Linked DNA regions of Homo sapiens: region 1 is linked to region 2. The links are contacts of gene promoters, found by promoter capture Hi-C in blood cells and fetal thymus (Javierre and others, 2016). All regions are on one chromosome and are shown on one strand. The core of a region is centred on a gene start or on the middle of the fragment in contact, and the rest is flanking DNA. Distances in the headings are between cores, read along the strand shown. Region 1 overlaps OVCH1-AS1 (OVCH1 antisense RNA 1). Region 2 holds the start of FAR2 (fatty acyl-CoA reductase 2).

Region 1 (4,160 bases), core at 368-2,867, 280 kb before region 2:
AACTTCCAAATTTATATATCCAGTCCCAGCTTCTTTATTGAACACTAGCACTGTATATCCAAGTGTCTCCCCTTCCACTTGGCTATCTAATAAGAATCTCAAACTTAACATGACCAAAATTGAACCCTTGATTTCCTACCCCTGCCTCCAAGCTCTTCCTCCACCAATCTTTCCCACCTTAGTAGATAGCAACTCCATTTTGCTAATTAATTACTCAGGCCATTAAACTTGGTCCACCTTGATTTCTCACATTCCACATCAAGTATAGCTCATCAGTAGGTCTTTCAGTAAAATAGAGCTAGAATGCTACTACTTCTGAACAATTCCACCATAATATTTTGGTACAGCCTTCCTTTAGCCAGTTTTATGTGTAATAGCCAAAGTGATCATTTTAAAATGAGTAATTGAGATCATGTTTATAATCCAATGTTTTCCTAACTCATTCATAGTAAAAGTCCTTATAGTGCCTACAAGATGCTATAGGATCTGGCTCTTGACTATCCCTTTGATGTCTTCCCCTGCTACTTTTCCCAGTGCTCACTTCATACCCAGCCATGCCAACCTTGCTGCTGTTCCTCAGCAAGCATGCCCTCTGCTATATCCCTGAAACCTATAACTATGCGTGGTAAATAGTACTCAAGAATTGTTTATTTGAATAAAGGTAATGACATTTCAGCTAAGGCAGAGTAGGAGTGGAAAATAAGGAGGTAGCTCCTTAGCTGATGAATGGGTTAACAAACGTGTCTATTTTGCTTAGGCGAATCCTCCTGCCTGAGAGCTAATGTATGAGTAGGGGTTAACTCAGGTAAGAGACTCTTATTACATATATTCATTCTGTTTTTCAGATAAACATAGAAAACCTTTAATGTAGACATGTTTTTCGTGACAGAAGAATTATAATAGATTTATATACCCCATGTGTGAGGTTTATTCAAGATCTGACTCATTTTGTGTTCTTAAGATTGCAGATAAAACACGCTATGAGAAATTATGATATGTCTATGTGAATAAGAAATATAGAGCCATTATAATTTATATGAGGTAGTTAGTAGCATGGAAAAATGGTCACAATAAATTAAATAGGGGGAAAATGTTGTAATGGTATAAAATGGAATACAATTTTTTAAACATATACAGCATAGAAAGACTTTGCAAGATTTACATTAAAACATGAATATTGGTTGCTTAAAGGAGGGACTATAGGAGGATTTTTTTTTTGAGACAGGGTCTTGCTCTGTTCAGGCTGCAGTGCAGTGGTGTGATCATGGTTCACCGCAGCTTCAACCTCCCAGGCTCAAGTGAACCTCCCACCTCAGCCTCCCAAGTAGCTGGGATCACAAGTACACACCACCATACCTGGCTAGCACTTTTGTTTTTTTTGGTAGAGACGAGGTCTTGCTGTTACCCAGGTTGGTCTCAACCTCCTGGGCTCAAGCAATCTTCCTGCCATGGACTCCCAAAGTGCTGGAATTACAGGCGTGAACCACCATACCCAACACAACTTTTTATCTCCTCCTTTGGACTCTATTTTTGAAACTTTCTATAATGAGCATATATGCATTGCTTTTATAATCAGAATAAAGAAATATGTTATAAAAGTTTAATTGGGTGTATTGACCCTGAATGTTCTTATTCTATATTCCATGAGAGGAAAAATTAAATACAATCATAGCCTTGGGAGATTGCTTGGTGCCTTAGCAAACCGTTTCTGCCTGGACTCACAGGGGTACTCTGGGAGGGCAGCTAGAGGTACTGGGAAAAGGCCACATGGAGAAGGAACTCTCCAACTGAACTTTGTAACAATTTGAACTGATCAAGAAGCCTCCTGGCCAGAACTCAAGGGAGGGTGTTAATCTGGTGTGCAGACTCCACAGGCAGGAATAGAAGGAAAGCCATACTTGATTTCGCAGCTGGGAGGTGGGTAGCCTGGGACAAATTCTCCAGCTCTGCTCACCCACTGCCTGGAAACAGACTCAGTGCTTTTGGAGAGGGCATGGTGGAAGTGAGACAAGCCCTTTGGATTGTGTGGAGCTGGGTGAGGTCTGTGACTGTCAGCTCTCCCCCAGTTTCCCTGAAAACCTGCATGACACAGCAGAGACAGTCATAATCCTCCTAGGAATGTAACTCCATTGACCTGGGAACCTCACCCCAATCTCCCACAGCAGCTGTAGCAAGACCTGGCCAAGGAGAGTCTGAGCTCAGACACACTTAGCCCTGCCCCCACCTAATGGTCCTTCCCTACCCACCTTGGTCACTGCAGAGGGCATATACTCTTGGGAGTTCTAGGGGCCCGCCTATCACCTGTTCCTCCCCATTCGACCACAGCTGGTGCTCTCTGGAAAATGCCACCTCCTGGCAGGGGGCCAACCAGCACAAAAATAGTGCTAATGCTATTTCATAAATGATATTGAAGTTATGTTTTATGCAGTTATGGGGGAAGTGAAATATTACTATGGCATTTGCAAATTTAGAGAAGTCCTAAAGATCTTAGGTCACATCTCTTGAATATCAAGTGTCAATTCACACACCTCTAGACTGAAGATAATAATACCTGTATCTTATGATTGTGAAACCTAAATAAGATCATGTATGAAATAGGAGTGACAAAAATAAATTGAAATGTAGACGTGGTGTGACTTAATGGATTTACAGTTTGTGATTTAAGGTCAAATAATTCAGGCTGTTTGCTTTTGAAGTGGGGGTCCGTTTTTCCAAACAGAAGTCATTTAAACATAAGTAAGGATCTGTGGATACCAAGAAGCAATGATAGGAATTAATAAAGTATGCTACAGTTTAGGTTTTAATGACCTACTTGTAGACATTCCAATTAGATTCAAGTAACTTCTCTTTTTGATTATTGTATATTTTTTCTCTTTGTCTCAAGGATGTCCAGTATTGGATTTGATTCCAGTGACTTCTGTTGAGATCACATCTCTTGATTATCCTAACAGTTAACTCAACATGCTGAATTACACTTGGACTTTTTATTCCACAACAGTAAATAAAATGAAGGCCATGATTAAAGACTTTATAACAGAAGAATCTTTGAACTGTGATTGGGATTATATAATATTTATGATAGACCATATCAGCAATCAATTCTACTTTGTAAATTTATCTTTCTTAAATGGCCTACACTAACTGGCACCAAGTATTTATATAATGAATATACATGTAAAACATGACCTACATTGGCCTTGGGAACAATAGCATTTGTTGTCAGTGATTTCTCATCAGATCCTTCATTAGAATCCTATAGCATTATTGAGCACAGTTGGATGAGTATGAGATCACACTCACTGGATCTTTATTCCTTCCCAATCCTGGCTTGTCTTGACTTTTTAGTACAAAAATTCCTATCTCATTTAACCATTAGTTGGCACTCTTGGTTTTGTCCAGATGCCATATGTTTTAAAGGATTTTATTTCCTAAATGGCATTTTTAGATGGTAACTTTTTTGAAAATGTATTTACTCAGTGTTACCAGTATCAGGTTTTATACTCATAATATAGATGGCCCTTTTTAGACCTCAGATAAATTAAAGTGGAGAAAAGTTCCATTAGCCAGAATAATCTTTACCGATGAGTGGTGCTGAGGACTAAGAAATTAATGGTTGGAGGTGCTGGGAGTCAAACTCAGGGCCTTGTACATGAGAGGCACCTGTCTACCAGTGAGCTACACTCACTTACCAAGCTTGAATAATCTTTAGAAATGTATTGGTCACATAGTGTCTGTCATGCTTGAGCATTTGGCAGTATTCCATCATGAGACTGACTCATAGAGGGAAACTTTTTGAAACATTTTGTAATTGAGTATTGCATCAACTTCTCTAGTTTCCTCTTAGTTCTGCCACTTAGGACACCATTAAAATCCATTTATTGCACAGGTCAAGAGGAGGATTTTGATGCTTTCTTTTTCCAGGGACCTTGACCCCTCCTATGATAGTTCCAGATTTATAACACCATTAAGTTCAGAATTTTGCTTTGAAGTTCCAAAGTTGCCTAACTTTCCTATCAGTAAGTATGGCTCTTATTAGATTATAAAGCAATTGGGGTATGGAGGAGGGGAAGATTTATAAGTTCAAGCTATTGGTTTTCCTTAAGATGAACCATGGGTCTCCATAGCACCATACTCTTCAACCCTAATTCCTGTCAATACCC
Region 2 (3,993 bases), core at 732-3,231:
ATATATTGGTAGGGACAAGCATGCTGGTGGTCACTGTGCATGATCCTTCACAAGGCTATATTTGTGAATAAGTAAGTTTTCATGAGTGCATGGGAATTAATGCAAAATCAAGGAATTCTTAACACTGATGAGACGTTGCCAGAAACAAATGCACTCAAGAATGCTTCTTCCTCAGGAGATAGGAAAGCAGATGGTGAGATGGTCAAGATGATCATATGCTTTATAAACCCCAAAGTGATACCCTAATATAAGCCATTTTATTTATTTTCAACCTCTCCCTCTTCCTCTGTAACTGGATGTCACATTTTAGCTTCCTTTAAGGAAAGCATATTTTCATTTACTTTAATTTCTCTAATAGCTGTATGATTTACCAACTCATGGTGATTTACATCTCTTTTATAGATAATTATAGCCCAATGTTAGAAATAGGAGTAAGTGAGGAATTTGTTAATACAGCAGGGGCAGAAGCAGCCCTCAGAATTAGGAAAAGAGTACTGTAAAGACGTGGATCCTGAGAAATACTACCGATGAAATATTGACACACGCGTCGGCCTGGTAAAAACCTCATGCCCATCTCCTAGAAGTCTCACACACAAATATCCCTTCTGCGGAAATGCCTGCTCTTGCAGTTTAGGTGGCTGCCTTAAGTTTTTATTTAGTCCCTTGCCCCCCTTTCTAAATTTTGGACTAACTACACCTGTCAGTCAAATCTCCAGCTCTTATAAATGGGAATATACAGAGATGGGTAATTGAAACCACGGGGTAATTCTCAAATTTCCATTTGCCCAGTGTCAAATTTCTCTCAACCTAGCAAACAGAAAAGCACGATCTACCTGAATTCCCTGGTCACTTTTCTGACCCTACTCTGTCCTTGCTCATCACATAATGGGGGCACTTTACGTGATTCAACGAGTGGCCAAACTCTTGCAGATCCAGCGATAACCTTGGTTGCTCACACCACATAACTCAACCGTGGAAGAAATGGTGCCACCGCTGGCAGGTGAGACGCCTTCCTCTGGTTTGTAGGATACGATTGGGCATGAATTGTTTTAATAGACTGAGACTGCCCCGCGGGTAATTCTACTTGCTAGGAGTGTTGAGCAGCCTTCCTGCAAGCCATCTACTCCAGTTGGGAGTCTGCTGGCACCTGCTCCCCTGCACACCCCCAGGATGCCCAGGCCGCAGGAAGATGTCTAAAACTTCCTACAGGGGCAAAGCCCGCCCTGGCCTCACCAGTCGCCCCAGCGCGCGTCAGCCACGACCCCGGCGAGGCCCAGGTGGGAGGGTAGGGACGTGCGCAGCCTGGGGTGGGGCTGGGGGCTGGCGAGGACCTGCTCCGGGGACCAGGACTGGGCGCCCTGGCGGTCCCAGGCACCGGGAGGGGACCTAGGACCGCTGCCGTTTCACACGTGGCCCCGGCATTTTCGCGCTCTCTCCAGGAATAGCCCCAAGGGCCCAGGAGGCCTGGGTGGGACTCGGCCCCGCGCCTCTCTTCCCGGGTCCCCAGTCCCCAAGGCGCGGCCCCCCACATTAACCTTGCTGGGTCCTTCCCGGCTTTCTGCCCTTTGCAACCCCCGCGCGCCCCACCTTGGCGGGCTCCGCCGACGCCAACCGCGCGTAAACGGCCGGTGACGATTGGGGTGCAGCCGGGGGCAGCTTCAGGGGGCAGAGCCTCCGCAAATGCTTCTCTCCTCCCACCCGGCCTCACACCCACCCTCCTCGAGGTCCCGCCGGGAACCGCCCCGCCCTGCGAACCCAGCCGAGCCCTCCCTCCTGGGCCACCCCCAGTCCGGTCTCTGCTTTTGGAGCGCGTGGGCTCTGCGAGCGCCAGGGCTGGGGACCCTGGAATACCTGTTCCTCCAGCACGAGGATGGGGTCCAACTAGTGGTCCTCTAAATCCTGCTCCTTCCCCGAGGCTACGGGAAGCGCTCCAGCCACAAGGAAACGGCTCCAGTCTTTCGGCTCCCAAACGTGACACTCTATATATCCGGCTCGGAGACTGGGTGTGGGGCGGGAGGAAACCACCCTCCCTCCGACCTTCCCCGGCTCCGCCGCTGCCTCGGCACTGGGCGCGAAACCGGCGGCAGCCTCAGCCCGGGGCGGGAGGAGGGTGAGGGGCCAGCGAAGGCCCTACAGGTCGCGGGGGCGACAGCATCGTGGGCAGGGCGGCCGCGCGCGCAGGCCCGCCCCGCGCTTCCATTCGTTCAGCACCAGCGGATCCACTGGCTATGACTCCCGCATTTGTGTGGTTTGGGGGAGGGGAGTTGGTTTTGGTTTCGGTGGGTTTGGTTTGTTTGTTTGTTTGGGGCTTTTGTTTTGTTTTGTTTTGGGTTTTGGGGTTGGTTTTTTTCTCCATTTTTTAATCAGTGGGCGAGGGGACAAGGAAGCTAGAAAGGCGCCCCTCTCTGGTGTGGGAAAGGAGAACTCCCACACCGTGAAAGGTGGCGGGGTAGGGGGGTGGAGGGAGAGACCGAGACAGGAGAGAGATTCAAAGGTTCTAGTCTGAACTGAACGCTTGGGGGACATACCTTTCCCCACCCACCCTAGCAGAAAAGGCAGCCAAAAATCCCAGTTTACTCAGCTTGACTACACTGCACATCCCGTGGGAGGGATGCTCTTGTATCTGCTAAAGACATTGCGGAGGCGCCCTGCAGTGACCCACGAACGCAGTGGCTTTTTAAAACCCAAGGGCGTGAGGGTGGAGGGTGATGCGAGGACTTCAGGTGAGGCTTCCTCACACTCGGGGTTTGAAGGGCAGAAATCCGGCTCTGCCTGCCTATGGTGGGGTGGGGGTGGGTAGGAGACTAGAAAGGATCAGAGATGGGGGCCGCAGAAACAGCAGTGAGCCAGCTGTGCTCAGCAGCACTTCTCCGGACTTAAAAGAAAAAAAGATGTTTCATTTCTTAGCCTGGTAGCTTTTTTGGGATTTGGTCATTGTTAAATTTTAAACGGAAAAACAAGCTGCCAGGGAAGCCTTGTAGAGGGATGGACAGGCACGTGAGTGGAGCCCTTGGCCTCAACCAGGAAGTGCTGAAAAACGGCCAACGCCCATCCTAATTCCCTGGACAATGTAGGAGGTAAATTTCCAAATAAATATGGTGTGTTAAGAAAAATAGAAAAGAAATATTGTCCTATAAGCTGTTCTGATTCTCCTCATTATAACAATCCACATGCAATTAAAGAAATAAAATTTGACTTTTGAAAGTTAGAATTAAGGAGTGATTTCATGAAATTAAAATAATAACACCCATCTTGAATTCTCTACTACTGGGCTCTTTAATGAAATGTGTTAAGCTAAGTGTAGCCTAAAGGCACTGACTAATTTCCTCTGGTGACCGCCTGAATGCAAGAGACAGAAAAAAAGTTACAACCAAATTTATAGTATTTTTCGTTACCCCTCCCCTCCTCAAGAATAAATTTGAATGTATCTTCAAAATGTGTGTGACAGCACTTCAAATGATAATGTCAAATGCTGGTGAAAACGTATAGAAATCACTTAACAGATAGCAGATGGAAGGTAAATTGTAATCACGCTTTTGTTGGAAAGCAATTTAGCAACACATTCCCAAGGTGTTCAGTAACGAAATTTTTTCTTGTTCTGGACCTAGATTCCCATGTCTTACAATGTATTCAAAGGAGATAATCCATAAAAGAGAAATGCCGCATGTACATAGTTGCATATTTATTACCGAGTTGTTTATAAAGTAGGAAATTAAAAGCATACTTTCAGTGGGATGTTCATAGATAAAATACAACATTAATTATAGATTACAAAACCACAATTTGATTATCACCATTTAAAACGCTATTCATATATGTAGAATGTATTAGTTTGCTAAGGCTGTCATAAGGATGCACATAAACTGGGTGGATTAAACTATAGAAATGTATTATTTCATAATTCTGGAGGCTAGAAGACCAAGATCAAGATGTCTGCAGGGTTGGTTCCTTATGAGGGCTTTGAGAGAGAATTTTCCATGATGCTTACCTACT

The links. The method cuts DNA at HindIII sites, captures the fragments that hold promoters and counts their contacts. A CHiCAGO score of 5 or more calls a contact.
Region 1: a fragment that was not itself captured here is called in contact with the fragment with the promoter of FAR2 in region 2 in 2 of 17 cell types (monocytes and neutrophils); the score reaches 6.3 in monocytes.

Annotation. Positions count from the first base shown.
Region 1 is chr12:29,428,493-29,432,652 of GRCh38, reverse strand. The region is part of intron 1 of OVCH1-AS1 (OVCH1 antisense RNA 1); the gene reads right to left. It also overlaps a transcript of OVCH1 not described here. Among named protein-coding and RNA genes, the nearest start is that of OVCH1-AS1, 41 kb to the right of the region's middle. The HindIII fragment of the contact is 4,156 bases long and covers 1-3,695 here.
Region 2 is chr12:29,147,266-29,151,258 of GRCh38, reverse strand. It overlaps FAR2 (fatty acyl-CoA reductase 2), which reads right to left and starts at 1,981. Exons shown (of 12, transcript NM_001271783.2): 1 at 1,852-1,981. RefSeq lists silencers at 1,614-1,763, 2,074-2,133. The HindIII fragment of the contact is 9,301 bases long and covers 1-3,993 here.